Regions from separate parts of the Homo sapiens genome. Here region 2 is linked to region 1. Evidence: promoter capture Hi-C in human tissues and cell types (Jung and others, 2019). All regions are on one chromosome and are shown on one strand. Each heading gives the region's core, a stretch centred on a gene start or on the middle of the fragment in contact. The rest is flanking DNA. Distances are from core to core; before and after follow the strand shown. Region 1 holds the start of LYPD1 (LY6/PLAUR domain containing 1). Region 2 overlaps NCKAP5 (NCK associated protein 5).

What was found. Contacts are between HindIII fragments. The study calls those that stand out against the background at their distance.
Region 2: a fragment that was not itself captured here is called in contact with the fragment with the promoter of LYPD1 in region 1 in 1 of the 25 tissues and cell types used here (stomach).

Annotation. Positions count from the first base shown.
Region 1 is chr2:132,666,601-132,674,089 of GRCh38, forward strand. LYPD1 (LY6/PLAUR domain containing 1) reads right to left here and starts at 3,605. Exons shown (of 3, transcript NM_144586.7): 1 at 3,281-3,605; 2 at 1,800-1,937. The coding sequence starts at 3,332. It overlaps NCKAP5 (NCK associated protein 5), which reads right to left. Exons shown (of 20, transcript NM_207363.3): 20 at 5,188-6,705. The coding sequence ends at 6,689. RefSeq lists an enhancer at 2,468-3,431. The HindIII fragment of the contact is 6,763 bases long and covers 847-7,489 here.
Region 2 is chr2:132,708,532-132,716,020 of GRCh38, forward strand. All of the region lies in intron 19 of NCKAP5 (NCK associated protein 5), which reads right to left. Among named protein-coding and RNA genes, the nearest start is that of LYPD1, 42 kb to the left of the region's middle. The HindIII fragment of the contact is 5,877 bases long and covers 1,722-7,489 here.

The DNA of each region.
Region 1 (7,489 bases), core at 2,355-4,854:
CACTTGAAGTCTGTGCTGAAGTTTCTGTGGATAAAATGGAAGTTAAAATGCCTGCTCTGCTTCTTTTACAGAGTGGTTTTGAGGACAGAATGAAGCAAGATGAAAAACAGCACTTTGAAAATGGAGTGTGTGGTATTCATCTTAGATACACTTTTAGAGAAGAAGAAATGTGTCTCAGAAAAAGGACCTCTTCTGACTCAAATTTAGCTTACATCCCCTTCTCAACCATATCCCAGGTGATAAAATATGACACCCAGGTAAGCAGTGGCCTTGTGGACTCTGAAGAAGTTCTTAACGTGTCCACGGCACATTCTCATTTTGTCTGGCTCTAAACTACTGTCTCAAGAAAGCTGCAAATATTTGAAAGTAACAATAAAGTGTTAACAGTAATTCTGACTAAAATCACAGCAGTCCCTCTGGTAGAAAGGCAGTAAATTCTTTGCTCAGGTAAAACGTAGGAAAGAAACACAAGTAGAAAAAAATCCCATTTGTTCAAATTATCCCTATCAATCTTAAGAATTATCGCCAAGTTTGTTTTGTTTTGCATCATTAATAGCCCAAATCCCACGTGCCAAAATAATGTTTACCGCATTTCTCGAGACAAGTTACCCTTGAGAGCCAGTATGTCTGAGGCTTCCCAGAAGAGTGATTTTGGTGCAACAAATAATGACCTATACAAACCAGCCCTTACAACTGCACACACACCACAACACAACACAGTGTCAAGCTAACATCTGCTTTCCAAATAACCATGAGGATAGCAATATGACATTTCCAGGCCCTTCTCTGAGAAGAAACGACTTTCCCAAGGTGTTGGCTTTGAAACTAGAGTCCTTGCATTGATTTGCCAGCGGGTAAAGGGAATCATATAACAGTTCTAATCACTTCACCGGGCTCTGCAGGCAGTTCACAGAACTAAAGGAAGTGGGGGCTTTGGTTCATTCACTATCAGCCATCAAGTTATGCTATTTCCCATCCTTTTAATATCCTTAAAATGGCAAGGTCTGTGTTTATGGTTTTGACCTTGAAACTGAAGTAACAGCTCTACCTATTCTCCCAAAGTTCCAGATATACTTTGGGGAACTTTGACTTCTGATAAGACAGCTGGGGTAGGGGGTGAGGAGAGGGTTGGAAAGTTCTACCTCAGTGAGAAGATTCTTGGTCAACTAGAGGGAGTGAGGGCTATCCCACAAGACCTCCCCTTCCCCCACAGGATGCTCAGGACTTCTTCTCAGCTAGCCAGCAGCTAAGCTGGTAGGGCTGAGAACGGCATTCCTTTGAAAGATCTTGGCAATTTGTGCCTGGAAGTTGATGCATTAGTTCTAAAATTAAACAAAGATCCTGTAGTGTTCTTCAAGGAAATATGGTGTGCCTCTATGACAAAACACATTTTTCAAGCTCTGACCTCTGGGAGCTTCAACTAGCTCCATATTTCAGGCTGACAATGCTCACAGGCTACTGTCTAGTTGCCCAAGCCAGGGCTGGTTAGCCATATATTTTCTACCTCCATCAGCTTTTAGCATAGGGAGGTGAAGGGAGTAAATAAAAAGAGGAGAGCCACTAATTTACATGCACTTCCCCTCCCAAGACCCTTGGGGAGAAGCCTTGGTAATTAACTCTAATGAGATTAAAGTAACTTGGAACTCTTCATTTTCCCAGCACTGTAAAACTAAATCTGCGATAACCAGTGTGTGGGCATTAAATCAAAGTCAGTCCTTTTTCCTGCTATTTAATGGCCCCCTCACTCCCACCCCACAGCCCAGGCTTAAGAGCGAGGGGGAGGGCTGCCAGGCTCTTACCGGCACTTTGCTCCATCACTTCTTTCTGACACATGTCTTGAACGTTCACCGTGCAATTCACAATGAACTCGGGGGAGGAGCAGTCGTTGTTCAGCTGGAATTCTTCACACTGGTAGCACTGGATTTGCAGCGCAAAGCCTGCGAGACAGACGCAGTCGGGTTCAGATCCGGCCCCCACAGAGCCCACCCCGGAAATCACGACCATCCCACGCCTCAGAGCCAGGCGGCTCCCAGCCTCTGGCAGGCTTAGACCACTCCTGGGTCTCCGGGTAGGGCTGGATGTGGCTGACACCGGCAGGGGGCGGCGCGGGTACCTAGGGTCCTACGGAAGAAAGTGGAATAGTGCCCGCCACCCCTGGACCCCGGCTCTAGACACAAAGCGCCCATCCATTACCACCCCAGGCCTTTTCCCAAGAAGTTGAAGGGAGGGTGGGGACGGTACCACCGCAAGAGTGAAGTAGCTCTGGAGATGTGCGTTAGCTCCAGCCTAAGCCAAAGGATTTGCCTAATTGCTAATTGGTTACAAATTACTTAATTACTATTTTGGCACCATTCGTGATTACATTCGCAGACGTCTTTTTAGTTTTTATTTATTTAATTTTTAAAGTCAGCGTTTCTGTGCCAGGGCTCTGAGGATCCCTGAGCGACCACCTGGGAACAACTTGGGTGGAGGTGCCAGACGCCAAGCGCTGCTGCGCCGCAAGTCCCCGAGCCCGGGTCGGCGGCCCTTCTCCGGGGCCGTCCCCGCGGCGACCCGAATGGCCACAGAGGGTGGGAAAGGGCGTTTGTGAGCGCGCGCACCCTGGATCCCCGACCCCGCAGCCCTTTCTTCCAGGCCCCGGCTTTCAGGACAACCGTTCGACTAGGGTCAGTGGTCGGGGTTCCAGCTCTGCAGAGCTTAGTCGGGAGCCAGTAGGCGAACTGGAGAGAGGACGCGAGACCTTTGCGCCTCTGGACGCTTCGGCCTGGCTGTTCTCGGTGTACGCGCTCCTGTCTAGACCCAACTACCCACGCTCCCGCAGCCCCACATCTATCGCACTCTGAGCGCAGCAACCCAGCTTCAGCGTGGCCGCAGGCTGCCTCGCGCATCGCTCACCTGTCGGCGGCGCCACTCCCACGGGGTGCCGGAGGCGCCAGACAACTTGGCAGGGTTCGGGAGATGTCGCCCCCTCTCCCTCGCCCAGAACCCAGCACCGCTCGGACCCTCCCTCCTCTCAAGCCCAGCTTCTCCCGACGGTGCAGCCGGACAAGCTGCAGCCCGGAGTCCCGCAAACCCGCCGCTCCCCGCTCTCCTCCTGCAGCGCGGGACTTGGACACTTTCCCAGCCTCGCGCCCCGGGGCACCAGTCGCGGCCGCCAACTCCCGCTGGGCAGCCCCAGCGCAGGGCTGGCCCCGAGGTGGGCGCCTTGGGGGCAAAAGGGCTGGCGGGTAGATGGATTGTGCGCACCTGGCCTCGGCTGCTGGCCTCTGGGTATTCTCACCTGGAAGCAAGAACAATCCGCAAAAAGTTGCCGCGATGCCTAGGACCCACATTCTCCCGGAGTCCCGGGGCCGGGAGAGGGCAAGCGCATCAGAGGAGGCGACAGCAGCGGAGGCTGCCCCGGCTGCAGCGGCTGTGGCTGCCGAGGCTGCTGGGGCCCGCGCTGCTGCCGCGGAGACGACGGTCGTAGCTTAGAGGAGCCGCAGGTGCCGCTCGCGGAGCCTGCATCGCCCGCGCTCGGGCTCCCGGCTGCGGGTCTCTGCTCCTCCCGCTCGCGCTCCCGGGCCGAGCACCGCGCCTCCGGAGTTGGCGGCTGAGACTGAAGGAACTACTGGCGATCGGGAGCACCCACAAAAGTCTCGCCTTTTCTCCCCACCTCCCACTCCAGGCATCACGTGACGGCTGCCGAGTTGGGGTGGGGGTGGCGGGCGGGGAAGGCTGGGACGGTCGCTTCACATCCCCACCCCCTTCCTGTCTTCCTCTTCTCCCGCCTCCGCACGTTCCTGGGAAAGGGGCGCCGGGGGGCGGGAGAGAACTGGTAGTTTTCTGAGATGGGGAGGTTGGGGGAGCGGCGAGGAGGGCGCAGCAGGTGCCGTGGGGACCTGCCGGGTGCGGACTAGGGTCTGAGGACTGCGTGCCCGGCTGGCCCTTCGCACATAGGAAGGCAGCCTCCCCACTCCACGTCCTCTGCGCCTTCCAGGACTGGTCGGTACCCCAGCGACTGGGTCCAGCCCACACAACTGAGGCTGTCCCGCTGCGGGCCGCGGGAGCCTGGCGCCCCGGGAGGCTGACAGGAAGGGCGCGCGTTCCCGTGCGCCTGGCAAAGTTCCACGCCCGCAGGCTCCGTAGGGTGTCCTGTGCAGCTGTGCCCCCTCTTCCTCCGCGAAGGCCTTCTGTCAAGAACCAGCTCGGCGTGGCCAATCTGGGTGGGGGTGTGGTGGGGACACTGCCTTAACTGTCTCACTTGCCCGGGCCGCCCTCCCTTCTCCCGCCTGCGCGCACCGCTGGAGGGTGCATTGACACCGCCCTGGTCGCCTAGCCTAGGAGAACGCCGTCCCGGGGACACCTGCCGTGAGGTCCTACCAGAAAGCAAATCAGGGTGAGGAAGAGGGTTGTTCTCCTCCATTCCTTGTCTCCCAAACGCCAGCCGGCTCCATTCTGCTTTCCCCAAAGCCACCGATTATTAGCACATACTCCCACGTCCTCTCCTGAAAGGCCATCCCAGCCTCGGACTCGGCCTCTGGCTGCTCCCCACACCCCTCAAATTCGTCTTCTTTCCGCAAAGTCCAAGTGACCCACCTTGCGGACTCCCGGGGATGCCCCGGTGCTATCTTCGCCTTCCTTCCCGAGCCTTGCAGCAGGTGGTGCGGGAGACCGCTTGCCCGCCGGAGTGCGTTGGTGCCCCCGCCCCCAATCCGCACATTCCCATCCCCTTTCCGCACATCCTTAGGGAGCATCCATTTCCGTGGAAATCGCCTCCTAAGCTTTAGCTCCTCTTCACCCTTTTCTCCCCCGGCCACTTCTGGGGGCAGCTCTCTCACGCCGGGACGCTGATCATTTATTTCTGCATCCTCCCAGCAGAGCTGGTCTGTAAAGGGGCTTAAATGACTTTCTTTGTAATTCCTCTGCAGAGATCGTTCCATATCTGCCTCAGGCTCCTTCTCTCCCTCCCTCCCTCCCTCTCCCCCTTCTTTCATTTCTATTTGGTTAACCCCTCGGGGAGACTGAAATGCTTTGACCATTACTCACCTGTCTGCAGACTCTGATCTTACAATTGGCTAAATTACTATCTCTGGAGCAAAAGGGCCAATTTATTTATTCCTTCTGGGAACCCATTGTAAGAGCACGTGTGAGTCATGATTCAAGTAACTGACTGGGCCAAAAGGTCCTTGAGCAAGTTATTTTCTGTTTTCAGAGGGTGCAAATGTGATATAACTTTTATTCAGAAAGGAAACAAAAAGATTTTTTAAAGTCTGAAAGACAAGGACATTTTACATAATTTTCATTTAAGATAAAATAAAACAAATTGCACAAATTAACCAAATAACACTGATCATACAATACTCTTTAAAGAAACAATTATGTGCTAAAGTAGCCATATAGATCCTAAAAATATTTCTATTGGGCCTAGTTTACAAGCTCCTGTACATAAGTAATTATAAATAGTTCACATCTAGAAAAAATACACATAACCTTTAAAATAGAATTTATCCTTACATATAAACAGTCTTTGTAGAAAAAAAAGGATATTAAAAAGAATTCTTCGTAGCACCATTAATTTTATTTTTAAAAGTGAACATTGCAAATAGAAATTTGTTTTCATTTTTAGAGTGCCCAGATTTTAATAAAAAGAGCAAGAAGATAAAAATCAAATAATATTCAGGATCATAGAGAAGCACTAAGTAAAAGACAATCTAAAGAAATGTCTGGAAGGAAAAACTGGTATTGGGAATAGAATTCGGTCATTTCTGATACAATGTCACACTCCCAATCAGTGTCCACACTTCAGGACCCTTTTCATTTTTCAGCAGAAGCAGAATGACACTTATTACTATCACCTGAATCTCTGGCAACGAATCTGAAATTACACTAAAATGAACATTTCCATCAAATTGAGATTTGTGAGATGGAGATGAGGAGGAACCCTCCGATTTTTTGGCAGGCCCTGTTGTAGGTTTACAGAGTGTACCCACAAACAATTTGAGGACCAGGACAACGAACTTCACAAAAACTTCAGTTGGGATTTTAAAAAATATATATTATCATCAACTTCTAAGACTTAGTACATTATTTCAAGAGCATGGCACTGATTCCATTTATTGCTGTCTTTTTTTGCTACAAATATAATTTCTCTTCCAAAAAATTTACAACTTCTGTACAAATATTCAAAAAAAGTGCAAAATTAAGGATTCTGTATCATAGATGTGTTTACGCTTAATCCTCTTGAAACACAATAAATGGAGTCTATCTTTATTGCCCTGTCAGAGAAATAAGCTCTGGTGGGTTGCCTGCTGTGAATTTGACAAGGAAGGCTCTGGTACTGCAATAGTTTATTGTTATCTCTATCAAGCGGTGCACCCCCCACCCCCCACCCATCATTTCTTAAGCGCTCCAGTCCCAGCTCACTAAGGGAAGAGATGTCCTTTATACATCATTTGAACCTTGACTGGCACAGGAAGAGAAGCTATCATATAAAGAATCACTCAAAGATTCCAAGTTGTCTACCCCAGGCCTATCTGAACTACTCAAAGATGTCTCTTCATTTTTTTCTTTTTCTTCCTTCTGTCCTTCAACCTTGTTCAGAGAGTTCTTCTCTTTTTCTAATAAAATCACAGTATTGCTGTTAAATTTATTGAATGACTCTAGGGAAATTTTCGATAATCTATTCTCGGGATCGTCTTTTGTTTCTTCAAGTTGTCTCAATTTCTGCAATAAAAAGAAGAAAATATTAGAAACATATTTCTTTGGAAAATCAAGTTATCCTATCTAATATTCAATTATTGTCTGTATAAAGTACAGTTTAAAGGGACAGAGAAAACCTACAAGTCTTTAATAATCTTCTAGTATAATTAGATGTAATAATAAAGCCAATTTTAGGGATAAATCAGGACTTTAATCATTTTACTGAGATAAATAGGTCCCAATTTGCAAATTAAGTGCCACTTAATTTCATTTTAAATGGATCCATTTGAAATTTGTTCAGGTAAAGTGCCTTATTTTTCTTCATCAAAGTTTCAAACTCCTCTCTTTCCTTGCTAAGTATTAGCTGTACTTTTTCTAAATATGAGTAGGTATTGAATTTCAGCCAGAAGTTATGGTAATATGTTTTTTTCTAATAAAAAAAAGACATAAAAATCCCCTAACTTGCCATTTTTGAATACATGTTAAGCTTGTTAGAAGCATTGCCATTTTAGTATTTTGTCCCTTTATAGGACTTAAGATATTTGAAAGAGATCTCCAGGTTTTTGGGTGTAGATCCCAGAAGGCCCAAGGGCTTAAAAATTAAAGCGGCAGGTGAACAGCTGAGTAACCCCTCTGCTCCAGAAGGTCTAGTAATACCAGTTTATACTGGGATATTACTGTTATTAATACCCTGTATGATGTATAAAGCACTGCACCAAATTCAATAATTATCATAGGTAAACCCTGTAAACATGAATATATTCGGTTGCTCAGTTGGCTCCTAAGGGCTAAGGTGAGGACAGAGGGA
Region 2 (7,489 bases), core at 3,410-5,909, 43 kb after region 1:
CACAGTAGAAGAGAGCACCAGGCAGATTCCTAAGGCTTCTGACTCCAGGCCCTGGCTCCTGGATGGCATCTCTGGACCTGACTGAGGATGGGGGAAACTCACCATCCTGAGGGAAAGGACACAAGCCCGGCTGGCTTCGCCACCTGCTGACCGTAGAGCGCTTCATGTGTTTATTACCGATATTTGTTTTCTATTCTTTAGAATGCCTTCTTACGTCTTTCCCCTTTTTCTATTATATTGTTGTCTTCGTATTAGTCCATAGAAGATTATTATATATACATGGTGCTAATATTTGTTGGCTGTATGTAATACCAATGTCTTTTTTTGGGTTGTATTTTGGCTTTTAATTTTCTCTAGGGTGTCCATTGATGAATAGAAGCTCCTAATTTTCAAGGAATGTTAATGCTTTTTGCATCTGATTTAAGGATCCTTTCTCTTCTCTTCCCTCAGGTCAAGAAGGACTTTTTAAAAAGTTTATTATTACTGTTATATAAAAATGCAATTAACATTATTATATTGATCTTATATCCAGTCACCTTGTAAAACTTTCCTATTATTTCTAGTAACTGTCTACACATTCTTTTGGGTTTTCTATGAACATATCATAATATCTACACCCCCCCACCAAACCAAAAGCAAGTGAATTTAAAAAAAAGTTTTTAAACCCAACACAAAAATTCTTGAGCCCCAAAAATAAATAAAAAAGACAGAAGATAGAAAAACAGAAACATCAAAAATGAACAAGCTTAGTGTCTTTCTGAAAAGTTTAAAAGAAGAATAAGATAACATAAGTTGAAAGAAGAGGATGATAAAAATAACAAAAGTTAATAAAATGGGGTGGTGGTAGAGGGGCACGATACAATAGGTTCAGCCAAGTTAAAAGTTGGTTTCTGGAAAAGACAAAATTGGCAAACCACTAGGAAGTCTTAAAAAAAGAGAAATGATAAATAATATTATTAATAAAAAGGACAAATAACTACAGATACAATAGAGACTAAAACGATAAGCAAACCCAATCAGGTGGTTTATGTCAATAAACATGAAAACTTAGACAAAAGGGATATATTCCCATATAATTTATAAAATTTATCAGAATTGATAGTGCAATAAAGCCTGAGAGTATTATAACTAGTAATGAAATAAACTAGTAATAAACTATTAATAAAAGTCACTAACCATCTGCCTACAAACAAAACATCAAACCCTGATATATTAACAAATTTTCTCACAAATTCAAGGGCTAAATCATTCTAACTTATACAACTTATAAAGAACTGAAAAATAGGGAATATTTCCCATTCATTTTATGAGATCAGTATTATTTTGACATCAAAGTACACGACAAAGTACAAGAAAATAATGTCGCTGACACATTTCAACTCATTTATTAAAATGGTTAATAAAAAATAAAATTTGTTAATAAATCAATATAGATACAGAAATCTTAAATATGACATTAGCTGACTAAACGGATCATTATTTACAAAAAATATCATAGCTATATAGGGTTTATCTCAAGGATGTAAGACTGGTTTAATTTTTAAAATATATAAGTATCTTTCATTTAAGGCATTAAAGGCAAAAACCATATGATCATCCCAAAAGATGCATATGTAACTTCTGATAAAATTCAACATGACTACGTGATTCTAAAAAAACCCTTCTTAGTTAAGGAGGCTTAAAGACAACTTCCACAACCTGATTAAGTTAATCTACCCCAAAACAAAACTAAAAACAAAACAGTTACAACAAACGTCATCATCCTGAATGGAGAAACACTGGAAGTATTCCCTTTAAATATCAACAACAATCAAGAATGTCTATCACCACCAATTTAACTCAACATTGATTATAGATTCTTTTAGAAGCACATATCCCTTTCATAGAATCTCACATACAAACCTTCCTCTTAAAGGCAACTCTTAAAACAGATGTTCTTAAACCTAAGGCACTGTGTTCTGAAAAGGTAGAACACTCTTCCCACCCCAAAGCCATTATCCAGTTTCTTTTAAAAAATACTGCTCAGAAGCATAGCACATTTGAGCAGTCAATTTAAAGAAGCGGGGGAAAAAGGGAAAGTATAATTTGACATAGTTAGTTGTAAATCCAGGAGTATTATCCAGGCTAAATATCATCTCACCCTGGGACCAAGGAATTAAGCTCATTTTGCTCTTTCATCTTCAACAAATGCAGAACTTAAAGAGCTGTTTTAGCCCATAATTTCATTCATCTTATGATCCAACTGGTATTATACTGAATAACATTTGTAATTTGACTGTATTATGTGAGTGAACTTTGCACTCCCAGGAGAACCAAAGAGATATTTTATGGCACTGAAGTGACAATTTTTTTAAAAAAAAGATCCGTCTTTTTAACATTTGAGAAAGGTACTAGAAATATTGTTTCGCTTATGCTTTGTTCTGAAAATCCAGCTAAGTTTCGAATGAAGAGAATGATTTATTTCAGGACCAATGTCTTTCACTCATTCGATAAATGTTTGTTAGGTACCTCCTGCGTGCCGGGCACTGTTCTAGGCACTAGTGACATAAGCATGAGCAAAAACACTCTGTCCTCATGTTGTTTAAATGTCCAGAAATATGGTAGTGTTCTACAATAGTAAATATGAGGGTGAACCCAGGAAATCCTAGAATATGGATCCCCTATCCATCCCATGTGCTTTCCCTTTCTCTCCAAAAGCTTTCCATTACTGTCTTGAAGGTAAAAGAAAAATGTCTGGGTTGATTGCCTTCCAGGCTTTGGTCACTGCATCACACCAGAGCTACACCTCACTGAGCCTTTCTTGGGAAATTTATTTATAATAATAACATAGCCAGCATCAAAAGGGCACCTTTCAAAAAGGCATGTGGCATATGCTGTCTGATTAAAATCCTGCAATTAGGTATTATCGTCATTTGGTGGGTGAGAATCCGAGGCACAGAAAGGCTCAGTGATCCAACATTATAGAAATTAATTCAAGTTTCTTTGACTCCAAAACCTTTTTGAACATTTTCTAGTATATCTGGTTGCCTCATTCATTCATTCACCTTCTCATCAAATACTGAGTTACGTATCAAAGGAATTCTGAATTTCATGTTATTCTTCTGAGTATGAGTATAGTCTTTATCCATAATCCATAAATATCCTATTTTCCCCAGCTGTGTAATACTGTGCAACCCAGACAGACCCTCCTTTTCCCTCCCTCACCACAGAGAATGGTATAGAAAAACTCAATTAGGCCAAATAAGGATAGGATAAGGGGCACTCCTCCTTCCCTTCCTCCCTCCCTGCCTCCCTTCCTTCCTTCTCCATTGAGCTTACATTCCACTAGGGGGATGGTAGACAGGATAAATTCTAAGCTCTTTTCCAACATAAAGGCTCTAGCTTATTAGAAATGGGGAGAATAAGCAGAAATAAAGAGGCAAGTATTTTGGTGTTGTGGTTGTATAGCGAAGGCTGCAGGACAGACTCAGGTTTACAAATCTAGGCTTGTTCATCACCTGTGCTCTGGGCTGCTCCTCTACTCACCTCTCAAATTCACTGGCACACACAGATCACACCCACTGCCAGTTGGTACCACATTTGTATTATCAATTACCCTCACAGAACTGTATGACCTCTGTTCTGCTAACCAGCTGTAGGGAAACACTGGCAGTCAGAGGATGTCACCACTCTCTTCTCACCCTCTCTTCATTCCCTGATTTGCTCACTTGCCCCTCAGAGAAATCCTCTTCCCCTTTATGCCCACCCAAACCTGATTCTTCAAGACTCACCTCAAGCCCCCTTCAGGAAGATACTTTGGCTACCTCATACCTTTTGCTTAGAACTATGTTGGGATTCAGGCCTGGCGGGGTGGCTCACTCCTGTAATCCCAGCACTTTGGGAGGCCAAGGGGGGCGGATCATGAGGTCAGGAGATTGGGACCATCCTGGCTAACACAGTGAAACCCCGTCTTTACTAAAAATACAAAAAAATTAGCCGGGTGTAGAGGCGGGCACCTGTAGTCCCAGCTACTCAGGAGGCTGAGGCAGGAGAATGGCGTGAACCCGGAAGGCGGAGCTTGCAGTGAGCAGAGATTGTGCCACTGCACTCCAGCCTGGGCAACAGAGTGAGATTCTGTCTCAAAAAAAGAAAGGAAAAAAAAAGAACTATGTTGGGATTCAATCTCAGCAGTCACAGTCCATTCATTCACCCAGCATTTCAGTAGGGATTCAGTAAGCACTTACCATGTGCCAAGGATTCAGTATGAAACACCATGATCTCTGGTGTTAAGGGATAAGCAGCAGAGAACAAGAGCAATTTGATGGTCAGGGTGAAACCAAGGTGTTATGGGATCACAGAGGAGGGGCACACACCCAGATCCAGATCAACAGTACAACTGCTGGGAATTGATTCCATAGATATCCACAGAAGACAAGTTAAGTGAATGATGGTACAGCCACACAATGTAGCTGGAACAAAGAACAAGGGAGACAGTGCACTGACATGGAATGATCTCCAGGATATATTAAGTGGGAGAAAGCAAAACAAAACAAGATGCAGGATAGTGTACACAGTGTGCTCCCTTTTGCGTAAGAAATGTGCATTTTTTGCTTTGTTCAATGAAAGACTGGAAAGATGAACAAAAAAAAAAATCAATAAAAATGGTTACCTATATGGGGCTAGGGACACAGAGATGGAGGAGAGAATTCTATGTTCAAAACGACAAAGTCAAATTTTGAAAATGATATCTGAGAAAAACTTTGAGAAGCTCTCCACGTAGCAGAGACTGCTGAATACTGAAGCATGAAGACTCACTTCCTAGTCACTACAGCATTTGTTCACAGAGTGACAAAACATCAAGCCTGGCAGTATCTGGAGGAAGATATCTCTTCCCAAAGAAGGGAGGGAAGACATGTGCTGAAGATCACCAAGTAAGTTATGGTCCAAGAAGACACATGCCTTCTCCAAGATGGGTATTTAGGTCCTTCCACACATCTCAAAGATTTCATGGGACACTGTGGTGCAATGAATGCTGTTGGCATAGCTTCCAGGTTTTGCCTAAAATATATTGATCCTGTGGCCTTGCCTTCTGAATAATCCTAATAAAACTCAGGAAGACACCAGGAGATATCCGGGAAAGAAACATTACAGAATAAAAAGGGACAAAGTGACATATTACATCATAAGACAGAAAGGGCCAAACAAAAAAAAAAAGAGCTCTTATTTTAAGGTGAAAAAGTTGAGAGTAGAAGAAGAAACATTCTGTATGATGCTTGTGGGGGGTTCATAAATAGAGAAGCAAGCTGACTGGGGAAAGCTGGAAACCAACCACTAACCTCTCTGCCTGCACAAGATCCAGAGCCAGCTTGGCCAATGGAAGGGATGCTATCTCCTTTTCTAATTAAATTCCTTAAAGAGTGTGTTGATTTATTCATTTATAATAAAATCCTGTTCTAATTAAAATTGAAACTTCTCCCCACCTGATCCAGCCTCACCATATTTCTGGTTTCCATGTAATTGAATTTGAAAACAATGATGCTGAGTGATAGCTTGGGATATTGCTGCTTATTGTGAAAGTAAATAATAAAAAAGGAGAATGCTGCTAGGCTTGTTTTGGGAAGGCTTAATCAGTCCTTTCTCCCTTAGACTGAATTTTAACCACAGTTGAAGATAATATGATATTTCCCTTAATGAAATTGTATATCCGTGGCTAATTTATGAGGGAAGTTTACCTTTCTGGGGCTTTAGCTTCACATTATTTTAGTCAATAGTTTTTAAGGTCCCTGGGTTCCCCTCTCTCCCTCTGACATCCTCAACCTTCAATTCCAGAAATTGTTCTGCGTATCAGTCCATTTAATACATAATACTCAGATTTATTAGAATTCTTCAGATTGGAAGCTTTGCCACATCTAATGTCATATCTGAAACACCCATGAGAAAGAGGCAAGGTGGGCATTATGTGGTTGATGCGACTAATGCTCAGAAAGGCTGACATGATTTATCTAGGATCAAAAAGTCACTTAATGGCCAGGCACAGTGGCTCATGCCTGTAATCCCAGCACTTTGGGAAGCCGAGGCTGGCGGATCACCTGAGGTTGGGAGTTTGAGACCAGCCTGACCAACATGGAGAAACCCCATCTCTACTAAAAATACAAAATTAGCCGGGCATGGTGGCGCATGCCTCTAATCCCAGCTGGGAGGCTGAGGCAGGAGAATCGCTTGAACCCGGGAGGCAGAGGTTGCAGTGAGCCGAGATCATGCCACTGCACTCCAGTCTGGGTGACAGAGTGAGAATCCATCTCAAAAAAAAAAAAAAAAAATCAGTTAATGACACAGCCAGCGCTGAAACCCAGGTATGTAAGCTCCCAGTTATGGGCATTTCTAACATACCCAGCCAAAGGGCTCATGGCTTTGGGTTTCTAGGTTCTTGGAGGTTCACAGAGGAGCCCACTGTGTAATTCGCTGAGTAATACTTGACATTTGTCCTGGTTTTTCCCAAGCTCATCTCCTTGGTTGTATAGTAAGTGTATATCTCTAGGTTTCTGATTAGTTAAGGAGGAGCAGTTGGGATGCAAGAAGGTTTGAAATGGTCTCTCTCTTGATCCTTAAAAGTCAGAGAAAAAGCAATTAGAATATATCTGTTCTTCTTCCCCCGATACCTGAAAAGACTGCACCTTGCTTTTTCCTCTTGCACATGATAATAGTTACTTCTACAAAGATTCTTCCTGAATACCGAGCCCTTTCTTTTCCCCACCTACCCCACTTCTTCAAGAAAGTTCCTTCTACTGACCCCAGTATTTTCATTCTGCAGATGATTGTTAATCTTCCGTGTCTGGTGTAACCATTCAGTTGGAAGAGTTCTGGCAAGGGGCTCTTTCTAAATGTCTCTATGTGCTTTCGAGCCAAATATAAAACTCTAAGGTCTCCAAGGAAACCCAAACACCTGTTGACTACATTTTTTTTCTCCATTTTTTTCATCTAATTGCAATTTACCTACTTCACTAGAGCAACGTGAGGATTAACTGTCCTTGGGTAACTTTCAAGTCTGTAAAGGATTTCTGCCTCCTCAGGGCACATGTTCTCTAAGAGAGACAGAGCCGAAATACTAATAAGAGACTTAATGTGTAGCAGCCTCGAATAATCTGTGCTCTGTGTTACCACTTCAGACAGTCAGTGTCTCCCTAACACAGTCTGACAAAGACACCGTGGAGGGATCAACAGCCAAGTCTGAAAGTCCCAGACAGGAGCATGGACTTCCCTTTCAAAGCCCTTGGGAGGAAGTGATATTAACCACCAAATTAGGTAGCTGGACCAGGGCCTGGTGCACCTGCTGGGCAGGCGGGGGTGTCTGCCTGCTGTCATATTTTGGCACAAACATTTGACAGCTTCTCCCTCCCAATGAACATTTCTAATACCCAAAGGTTAATCTTTTCTTGGCTTCTTCTTGTCACTACTGACATTTTGTACCCATTATCTCCCTGTGGTTGGGGGCTGTCCTGTGCATTGTAAG